2 separate regions of the Homo sapiens genome follow, and region 2 is linked to region 1. Evidence: promoter capture Hi-C in 16 types of primary human blood cells and fetal thymus (Javierre and others, 2016). All regions are on one chromosome and are shown on one strand. Each heading gives the region's core, a stretch centred on a gene start or on the middle of the fragment in contact. The rest is flanking DNA. Distances are from core to core; before and after follow the strand shown.

Region 1 (5,530 bases), core at 1,240-3,739:
CCTTTTGGGGCACTCAGTCTTGGAACTCAGCCACTATGATATGAGGAAGCCCAGGCTACATGGAGAAGCCACTTGTAAATGGTCTGCCAACAACCCCAGCTGCGGTCCAAGCCAACAGTCAACCTCAACTTCCAGACATGTAAGGAAGCTTTTGAGATTACTTCAGCCCTAGCCACTGCATACGAGACTCCCAAGTGAGAACTGTTTAGCTGAGCCTAATTACCTCCCAGAACCATGAGAGGTAATGAAATTGTTGTTTTAAGCCACTAAGTTCGGGGTCATTTGTTATTTAACAATAGACAATAGAACAATTTGTTTATGTGTATATTTTATGTCTCTTTCCTTCTAGAGTATAAATCCCACAGATTCAGGTATTTGTTGTTGTTGTTGCTGCTGTATTCCCAGCACCTAAAACAGTGCCTAGTACATGTGCTCAATAATTTTTTTTTTTTTTTTGAGACAGGATCTTGCTCTGTCCCTCCCAGGCTAGAGTGCAAGTAGTGTCATCATAGCTCACTGCAGTCTCAAACTCCTGGCCTCAAGTGATCCTCCCAAGTCTTCCAAGTATCTAGGAATACCACAACCAGCTAATGAAAAAAATTTTTTGGGGCCAGGCACGGTGGCTCACGCCTGTAATCCCAGCGCTTTGGGAGGCGGAGGCGGGCAGATCACGAGGTCAGGAGTTCGAGACCAGCCTGCTTGGTGAAACCCCGTCTCTACTAAAAACAGAAAAAATTAGCCAGGCATCGTGGCGCACGCCTGTAGTCCCAGCTACTCAGGAGGCTGAGGCAGGAGAATTGCACCCAGCAGGCGGAGGTTGCAGTGAGCCGAGATCGCGCCACTTCACTCCAGCCTGGGGGAGAGAGCGAGACTCTGTTTAAAAAAAAAAAATTTTTTTTTGTAGAGATGGGATGTTGCTAAGTTGCCCAGGCTGCCCTCAGACTGCTGTGATCCTCCTCCCTTGGCCTTCCAAAGTGTTGGGATTACAGGTGTTAGCCACCATGCCCAGCCCCCAATAAATATTCATTGAATGAATGAATGGATGCATGATCCATTTTCAATAAAGCATGCTAACAGTTACTGGTCAACGGTATATGGCATAGTCTGCGCTAGATCTCATTGGCTGGGAGAATAAATTGACAGGGCATGGGGAAATATGTTGGAATTTTTCAAAGGTTAATAACGTAATATACATAATGTAAATATAACATATATAATGAATTATACTAATTACACGACAGTATAAAATAGGATTTGAGTTTCATGTAGTCTTTTGGTGATTGATCCCATAATCCTAATATGGGCTTCTCCAGATCAGGTCTGGAAAGTCTTCAGAAGTATTTTCAGAAGGATTTAGTGATTCTTCTCATTCAAATAATGAAGTCCTTCCTAAGCATCCTACACTAGTGGAAATCACTCACATGGTTTTGGTATGAAATGGAATGAAACTGGGTGGTGGCAGTGTGTGTATGTGTATGCACATGTGCACACTCACACGGGCAGGTGCATACAATTTGGAATGCCTACTTCCACTGCCTATTTTCAGTCTGGTGGTTTGAATGGAGTGTGTATATAAAGAGCACAAATAAACATAGTTCTGGATTTCCCCTTTCTGCACCAAGTACCTTGATTTCACATTTGGTTTGAAGCAAATATTTGTGTATTGCTTAAATAGCAAACATTTTCAAATATTCAAGGAAAATATTACATTTTTATAATCTCAGAAGGCAATAAAGGACAAAATTTCTTAGCTACCTGAAAAGAGGTAGTTTTTGTCTGGGGAAGAATAAACAGGTGGATGGTCGTTTGAGTGGACTAACCAATTTCTTTGAGCCAACCCATCTCAGCCTTGATTGGAGCAAAAAGCATAAGGATGTGGAGTGTGTGTGGTTTCTTGGAACTGGGGATCTCTGCTGAATCTACTCACAATGGGAGCAAAGCAGTTTCCATCACAATAATCGCTTTAACAATCGTGTGCCACTTCTTTCCAGGATCCAGAAGGGCTTGAGGATCAAAATGGCTTTTAAAAGTTCTTCACTTAAACAAGGCCGCAGCCACAAGGTTACTTGGCCGAGTGTCTCTTGAGAAAGAGTGAGTGCCATTTTGTTCTTTGTTCCAATGACAGTTGTTGGTGCCACTGGGCCTCACCACCTGGCCTGTGTCATGAAGTCTCCCTCTTGACTGGGTCTAAGCCTTGAGTGGAAAGTGGGGGAGCCTCCCAACACTTCCTTGGAAACTCTTGGCAAGTAAATTGGGGAATATTTTCTTTGGAAGTCTCATTTTTCTCACCAAAATTTAGATATAGCTTCTGAAGCTAATTATTCTTTTTTCATTACAAAAAATGTTTTCCTTTATTTATTTATTTGCAGGCCCAGCCAAACTTGACTAGAAAAGAAGCCCGGGCAGGGGTTTGGATGAGCCCATGACGTGCAGCGCGCTCCGACCAATTGGGAGGCCGTGAAAAAGGGGAGGGCGGAAGTGACGAGCCGTATCCCTCCGCGGGGCGAGAGGGTCGGTGGGGGGAGTCGGCGTCTCTCTCCCCCGCGCCAGCTCCCGTACACGGAGCCGCATTCCTTGGCCCCCCCACCCCCCTCCCTCGGGGCCCCCCCGCCCCCCTCGGGAAAAAAATCCACCCCGAATCACTCGAACCCGAGGGAGGCTTCCTTTCACCCTTGGGGAGACGAGCTTTCAACGGTTACCTCTTCTTCGTCTCCCCCCAAGCCCCCGTCCCCTCCCCCTGCTCCCACCCCCTTCTGGCGCCGGGTGTAAGGTCCCTTTAAGGCGACGGCGCCTTCCTCGGGTCAGACTACCGGCGGCGACGACCACAGGAGGTGAGTGAGCGAGCGAGCCTTCTCTCTCCCCACCCCCTGCTCCCGGGGGTTCCGTTATCTTTTCGCTCGGCGAGGCGTTCAGAGGCGAGACAATGAGAGGGGGATGGGGCCGGTACGCGCGGGGGTGGGGGCGGGGGGCCGGCGGTGCGCGCCCCCGCCCACCGCGAGTGGCGGCGCGGCCCGCGGCAGGGGCGGCCGCGGGGTGCGGCGCGCGAGCGCGAGTGTGTGTGCGTGCGCCCCGGGCCGCGGGAGCCGCGCGAAGGGCCGGCGGCGGAGGTCCCTGCCTGCCGGCTGGCCGGCCGCCCCCGCCCCCCGGCGCCCGCCGCGGCGCGCGCGCGCGCACTCGCGCCCCACGGCCCCGCACACAGCCCGACGTCCACACGCACGCTCGGCGCGAGGCGTCTCGGAGGAGTGGGCGGCGCGGGCGCGGGCGGTGGCCCGCTGGGGAAGGGGCGGGGGCGGGGGCGCGGGCGGTGGCGAGACGGCGGGGCGCGGCGGGAGGGGCCGGCGAGGGGGCGAGGCCGTGCGGCGGAGGGGCGGGCGGCGGCGGAGCGGCCCCTGGGGGTGGGGGTGCGCGGCCCTCCCCGCCCCATTCCCGCTCCGAGAAGGAGTGGGGCGCTCGTTTTGAGCGGGAGGAGGAAAATGAGTGATTGCTGAGCCGATCCCTTGTGTTATGTAATCTCTGCTTGGTCTAATAGTACATCCTAAGCCTTAGTGCACTGCAGCTAGTTTACGAAGTCTCCTCCCTCGGTCCCCAAATTTCTTTTGGGATGGCGCCGTGATTTATAAAATGGAATGAGGCGGGGAATCTTTATTTTCTGGTGATTATGTCCTGCCGCGGTGGGCGCCATGTTTATCCCGGGGACTATTTTATTTAGATTCTTGGCACCTTTTGCAAAGGAGTACTGTCATTGATCTATTTGTTTTCCGTCTTTCTGCGTGTTGTTCTTATTTCCTTCCTCTCCAGATGTGGGATTCTCTCAAACTGCTAGTAGCACTTGTCTTAGACATTCTTAGTTCAGAAAAAGGTAGTGCTGATGAGTCCTTAGAGTCATTTAGTGGCCAGTCTCATTTTCGAAATGGAAACTAAGATGCAGTTGGACTATCTCACAGCAGCCGCCGTCTTGATGCAAGCGGTGTAGCCCGTCCTTCCAAGCCCGTAGACACCTCTTACCGCCGCTCAAAACTCCACAGAAATGGGGTTTTACTTTTTTTTTTTTTTTTGAGACGAAGTTTCACTCTTGTCGCCCAGGCTGGTGTGCAGTGGCACGATCTCTGCTCACTGCAACCTCCGCCTGCCGGGTTCCAGTGATTCTCCTGCCTCAGCCTTCCTAGTAGCTGGGATTACAGGCATGTGCTACCACGCCCGGCTAATTTTTGTATTTTTAGTAGGGACGAGGTTTCACCATGTTGGCCAGGCTGGTCTTGAACGCCTGACCTCAGGTGATCCGCCCGCCTTGGCCTCCCAAAGTGCTGGGATTACAGGCGTCAGCCACCGCGCCCGGCCGGGTTTTACTTCTGTAGGCATTTACCCAACTAGAGGAAAGGGAAACGGAGGGGGCAGGGAGGGCTGCTCGTTGGCAAACGATTAATTTTGAGACACTATTGCTCAGGGTCTGAGAGCTTGAACTCTGAATTCGAACTGTTAGCACAATCGTTCTCAACTTCGGGGTGCATAAAAAGTAACTTGAAGGTGGTTAAACGTACAATTTGGGGGGCCTCATCCCCCAAATTTATTTGAATGGAGCAGAGGGGGGTTGTCATCTTTACATTTTCAAATGAGCAGTCCTGGGGCTGAGACTGATTAATGTAACCACTACATTGAGAATTACTGGTCTAACATAAAAGTGTTCAAGATGTTGAAACAAGTGACACCTTGTGCCGTTGATTTCCTTCCCTTTTCCAGAGCTGTGTTGGTGGTGTATCTCAAACTAAAGGAGGTAACAGAATGGACTCTTGGGACGAACCTGATTTAGTTAGAGTTTCCACTCCCATCTTGAACTAGTGGTATAATGTAGGAAAGCAGTTCTCAAAGTGTGGACAGATGACCCATGGGGATCTCCTCTTACCCTTTCAGGGTAGCCTCAAGGTCATAACTATTTTCAAAATAATAGTAAGATGCTATTTATTGTTTTCACTGATACACTGATGGTTCAAAAGCAAGGCTGGGTAAAACTACTGGCGGTACCTTAGCACAAAGCAAGTCAGGGGCACCAAACTACTTGAGAATGCCCTTGAAGCAGTAAAATTTATTATTCTATTTTTATTTTTTTGAGGCGGAGTTTTGCTCTGTCGCCCAGGGTGGAGTGCAGTGGCACTATCTCGGCTCACTGCAATCTCTTCCTCCCTGGTTGTATTTTTAGTAGAGACAGTGTTTCGCCATGTTGGCCAGGCTGGTCTCGAACTCCGGACCTCAGGCGATCCACCTGCCTCGGCGTCCCAAAGTGCTGGGATTACAGGCATGAGCCACCGTGCCCGGCCTATTATTATTAAGTCTTAGCTTTTGACTACATGTCTTTTTAATTTTTAAGAATTTGTGATTAAATAAACATGGATAAAGCATTTATGCTGCCTAGGGAGGTGTGATTGTTGTCATGAAGGAAAAGCATTTGTGAGATTGGGTTGTGAATGAATGGCTTATTTCATGGAGTAGCATTTTTACTTGAAAGAACGACTAGCAGACTATGGTTTTTCACACT
Region 2 (5,530 bases), core at 1,204-3,703, 320 kb before region 1:
ATCCAGGAAGGGTTTTCTTTAAGAACAGAGAATGTTTGTCTGCTGATGGGACTATCCAGTAGAGAGGAAAGAAAACGTTAATCATGTAGTAGAAGCAAGGAGAACTTGTGGAGCAGTGCTTTTATGAAAGACTTCAGTGCTAGGAGCAGAGACAGTTCATCTGTGGTCACAGGAGAGAACAGCAAGCATTTAGGCACAGGTGGAGGAAGGTGGGCAAATGTGTAGAAGCTTGTGGATATTTTCTCTGAATGCTCTCCTTTTTTAGTGAAATAGCAAGGACCTCAGTTGAGAGAGGTTGGAGGAGGCAGCACGAGACGTTTGAGTGGAGAGGGAGGCTGAGAAACTATGTGGAATAAGGAAATATAATGAGGAACATGTTAAAATTTGCTTGGCAGCAAAATGAAGATACAGTGTCAAAGAGAAACTCAGCACAAAAGCCTGTAAGAAGTCCACTGCTGTGGTCTAAATAAGATTTGAGCTTCTGAATCAGGCCAGATGCAGCATTGTTGATGTCATTAGCATATAGGTAGTAATTGAACCCACATATGTGGATGAAATGGTCTAAAGAGAGCAGAGTGACATTAACAATTGATGGCACAGGATGAGAAGCCCAAACTTGGAAGGACCCTCCAGGGAAATAAGAGGAAACCAAGAGAAAGAGGGCACAGAAACCAAGGAAAGAGTTTTGTGGAGGGAGTGGCCACCTTCCTGCTACCGCAGAGAGATGGGTGAGATAAGGCTCCATGCATGACCTGTAGGTTGATTATCTGGGAAGTTACAGTTTTGGCGATGGAGCAGGGAAGAACCCCATTTCACTGTTCGTTAAGGAGTAAATAAATAGAAACCAAAAGTAGAGACAGTAAATGAAGACTGTACTTCCAACAAAGATAAATAGTAAGGCCTTTACTAAGCCTGGAATGGCATTTCTTGCAGAGGCAGCAGCTTCTGGAAAGCCCTGGAGGCATAAAAGGACTTAGATAAGTAATTTTAAATAATTTAATATGAAATCTAAGTATATATATTTCAAATATTTGATTCATTTAATTTTTTTTGTCTTTTAAAACTGACTTGGGTGGGGAAAGTGAAGTATGCTTCTATTTAATTCTATGTGTACCTTAGCTAACTTTTAAAAAATACCCTGAGCCCTTTTTATATGAAATAAATTTTGAAATTGCTGAAGCTCTTGAAATTGGAAGGTAGGCAGTAGTAGTCTTTTCAGTAATAATGTGCTCCCATGCCTCTCTGCTATTCATAAAAGGATTGGATGAAACCTCCCTCTTTTCCCTGCTTTGCTTGTTTCAGGATATAAGTCAAAGAGTACAGCAGAAAATGTCTACTGAACGGACTTCTTGGACAAGCCTGTCCACCATTCAGAAAATAGCCCTGGGCCTTGGGATCCCAGCCAGTGCAACAGTTGCCTATATCCTATACCGCAGGTATAGGGAAAGCAGAGGTACGTGAACCCTATGACTGTGTGTGTGAAAATGTTCAGACATGCTCCTGCCTTGTTAAATTGAAAAAAACTCTTTCCTTGCCAGGTATTGTGTGTGTTTTGTTTTGGGGTTTTTTGTGGGGTTTTTTTGAGACAGGGTCTCACTCTGTCACCTAGCCTGGCGTACAGTGGCACAATCTTGGCTCACTGTAGTGTCGACCTCCTGGGCTCAAGCAATCCTCCCACCTCAGCCTCCAAGTAGCTGGGACCACAGGCCTGTATTTTTTGTAGAGATGGGGTTTTCCCATGTTGCCCAGGCTGGTCTTGAACTCCTGAGCTCAAGCAACCCACCTGCCTCGGCCTCCCAAAGTGCTAGGATTACAGGCATGTGCCTCCATGCCTGACCCAGGTATTTTAATTGACTTTCTGTGAGGAATCTTTGACTAAAATTATTTAGTCTTTTTTTTTTCTTTGAGACAGAGTCTCACTCTGTCGCCCACACTGGAGTGCAGTGGAGCAATCTCGGCTCACTGCAACCTCTGCCTCCCGAGTTCAAGCAGTTCTCCTGCCTCAGCCACCCTAGTAGCTGGGATTACAGGCGTGTGCCACCACTCCTGGCTAATGTTTGTATTTTTAGTAGAGACGGGGTTTCACCACCAGGGTGGCTGACCTCAAGTGATCCACCTGCCTCGGCCTCCCAAAGTGCTGAGATTACAGGCATGAGCCACTGCACCTGGCCTAGTCTTTGCTATGTTCTTACATAGCAAAGTAAGCTAGTCTATGAAATGAACTCATTTTATAACTCCATTGATGTGCTTTCTTCAGCAACATCAACACAGCAAAGAGTTCTTTTTTAATTTCTATACTCATCTTTTTTATATATTCCTTTTCTCTAATTAGTTGTTAGTAGAAGGCACTTACCTCAAAGGCTGGATCTAGAGAATAGGACCTAGAGAAATGACTTATGTACCTATCAGTCAGGAGAAGTTCTGAGCCTAATGGACCCCTCAGGTAACTTTTGGCCTTCATTCTTCTCCAGTAGTCATGTCTTGGGAGAAGTAGTTTGCCCAAACCCCAGCACCTGTTTATTGCAGAATCTGCTTTTCCCATTTTAGCATCTGAAACAGTGTCCCAGAGAAAATGCCCATCTCTGATCCTTTGGGACCTTCTAATTCCCATTCAGATGCCACTTTTCCTTGTTGTTATGGTTGAGATCCTCACTTTATCTCTTGGATCAGTGTCTCTTTGACAGCCAGATTCTGGGGAGGACTGGTAGTTATACTAGCTTTGGGTGTTATCTAAGTCTGATCTGATGAACAATGATCTGTGCAGAAGAGCGGCTGACATTTGTTGGGGAAGATGACATTGAGATAGAGATGCGGGTTCCCCAGGAGGCTGTGAAACTCATCATTGGCCGGCAAGGAGCCAATATTAAACAGGTAAGTGTGTGAGTAGGCAGTCTGCTTTCCCAAGGATTGATTCTGTTTATTGATTTCTTGTTTCCTTCCACTGACCCCATATCACAAAACATTCACATGCTCTGTGTGTGTGTGTATGTGTGTGTGTATATATAAAATATATATATATATATTTTTTTTTTTTGAGATGGAGTTTCGCTCTTGTTGTCCAGGCTGGAGTGCAATGGCACGATCTCGGCTCACTGCAACATCCGCCTCCTGGGTTCAAGTGATTCTCCTGCCTCAGCCTCCCGAGTAGCTGGGATTACAGGCACCCGCCACCACGCCCAGCGAATTTTTGGTATTTTTAGTGGAGACGAGGTTTCGTCATGTTGGCCAGGCTGATCTCGAACTCCTGACCTCAGGTGATCCGCCTGCCTCGGCCTCCCAGAGTGCTGGGATTACAGGTGTGAGCCACTGGGCCCAACCACTATGTATATTTTTAAAAGAACAAATAGAGGAACTTTTTAGCTAACTAAACTTTTTAGCTACTTCCCTTCTAGAGAAGAGTACTTCTCCCTAGAGAAAGGATGACTTAGCTTGAAATACGGGTTTTTGACTGGGTGATTGTCAGCATGGTATAACTTGAATTATCCTTTTTTTTTTTTTTTTTGAGACAGAGTCTGGCTCTGTCACCCAGGCTGGAATGCAGTGGCATGATCTTGGCTCACTGCAAGCTCCGCCTCCCATGTTCACATCATTCTCCTGCCTCAGCCTCCCAAGTAGCTGGGACTACAGGTGCCCGCCACCACTCCCAGCTAATTTTTTGTATTTTTTGTAGAGACAGGGTTTCACCATGTTAGCCAGGATGGTCTCGATCTCCTGACCTCGTGATCCAGCCGCCTTGGCTTCCCAAAGTGCTGGGATTAGAGGCGTGAGCCACCGCGCCTGGTCAAATTATCCTTTTCTACTATGGAATTAATGAACTCTCATTAATTGACAGTAAATATTGAATGGCTACCTGGTTCTTCTTACCATCTTCCATTGTTCAGCTGGAATGTCAAGAAAACAAAATATTTGATTCTCTAATCCAAATAAAATTAGTAAGGGGAAAGGATTCTAAACACAAAGATAAATGGGTTTGAATTTACTGCTATTTGGGGTTACATTTGTTACTAATCTCCTTCCATAAAGTGAGGACTGGTTGTATAGATAGTAACTGAGGTTGTATATAAAGTAATTGAGGACTGGTTGTATAGATAGTATTAGCTAATTCCTTTGGCTAATTCTATCTACCTCCAGGGTTTGTTTTAGAGTGTCTGTAGCTGGGCTCAAATGGGAGCTCTTCCAGAATGTACTGCCAAATGTCCTTTTCTTTGCAGCTGCGGAAACAGACAGGTGCTCGGATTGATGTGGACACAGAGGATGTAGGCGATGAGCGAGTGCTGCTTATCAGTGGTTTTCCTGTTCAGGTGTGCAAGGCCAAAGCAGCAATCCATCAGATCCTGACAGAGAATACCCCAGTGTCTGAGCAGCTTTCAGTTCCCCAGAGATCTGTGGGCAGAATCATAGGTACCACTGGATGGCTTCCTCTATTGTTTCCTTTATTCTTTACCTTTGCCCCTCTTTCACACCTTCCCAGGGTTTTTTCTGGCCTAGTTCCCCTTCACCATGTGAGGGGAAAAAAAGGGACATTGAGACCAGAGGTTTACTGTTTGTAGAACTGGTGGTAAAACCAAACCTGTTTCCTCAAGAAGTTGTATGATCTGAACCTTACAAATTGATTCTTTAAGGGTTCTAGTAGATGTATTATATTTACCTTATAATTGATTTTTAAAGGGAAGCTTGGGATGCTCATGTTATCTCAAGTCTTTCAAGACAGTGCTCTAGAGGGTACCTTTTATGCTTTCCCCTAGAGCATTGCTTAGTGCTGCTGTTAGAGGCAGAGAAATGTCCTGTCCTTGATCCGGTGTTCTGACACACTATGTAGCATATCTTCTTGTGACCTGATATGGCCATGCTGAGTGGTCAAAATGAAAATGACATGAAGTTAGCCAAAGTGTAGAGTTTAAATAAAATGGAAAAAGGAAAGAATATGGTATTCTCCTTTTCACAGTAATGATTTCAGTAGCTCCTGATTTCCATTCAACATCTTGTATTTTGTTCACTTTAGAAATGAGAACTGATTCTCTTCTCCTAGTATATACAAAACAGTGATTTCTCCAGTAGCTAAGGTTGGCCAGGAGGGAAGGGCAGGTTTTTATATATTGTTTAATGTAGGGAGAGGCGGCGAGACAATTCGTTCTATCTGTAAGGCATCTGGAGCCAAAATTACCTGTGACAAAGAATCAGAAGGGACATTACTACTATCAAGACTTATAAAAATCTCAGGAACACAGAAGGAAGTGGCAGCAGCCAAGGCAAGTAGCTAATAGACTTGAATTATACCTGAGCATGAGAAGATCCTTTTACTCTATCCCAGGTCAGAATATCATCCTTTCTCTTGTTTTCCACAGCATTTGATACTGGAGAAAGTTTCAGAAGATGAAGAACTTCGGAAGAGAATTGCTCATTCTGCAGAAACCAGGGTCCCACGCAAACAGCCAATCAGTGTGAGAAGAGAAGACATGACAGAGCCAGGTGGAGCTGGAGAGCCAGCATTATGGAAAAACACCAGTTCTAGCATGGAGCCGACTGCACC

What was found. The method cuts DNA at HindIII sites, captures the fragments that hold promoters and counts their contacts. A CHiCAGO score of 5 or more calls a contact.
Region 2: a contact is called between a fragment that was not itself captured here and the fragment with the promoter of POGZ in region 1, in 3 of 17 cell types (M2 macrophages, erythroblasts and M0 macrophages). The highest score is 9.1, in M2 macrophages.

The regions. Positions count from the first base shown.
Region 1 is chr1:151,456,453-151,461,982 of GRCh38, reverse strand. POGZ (pogo transposable element derived with ZNF domain) reads left to right here and starts at 2,489. Exons shown (of 19, transcript NM_015100.4): 1 at 2,489-2,831. RefSeq lists an enhancer at 2,219-2,268 and silencers at 3,099-3,148, 3,339-3,388. The HindIII fragment of the contact is 6,484 bases long and covers 151-5,530 here.
Region 2 is chr1:151,778,822-151,784,351 of GRCh38, reverse strand. TDRKH (tudor and KH domain containing) reads left to right here. Exons shown (of 13, transcript NM_001083965.2): 2 at 1,303-1,453; 3 at 2,765-2,871; 4 at 4,212-4,401; 5 at 5,110-5,249; 6 at 5,346-5,530. The coding sequence starts at 1,330. Among named protein-coding and RNA genes, the nearest start is that of TDRKH, 8.9 kb to the left of the region's middle. The HindIII fragment of the contact is 4,445 bases long and covers 231-4,675 here.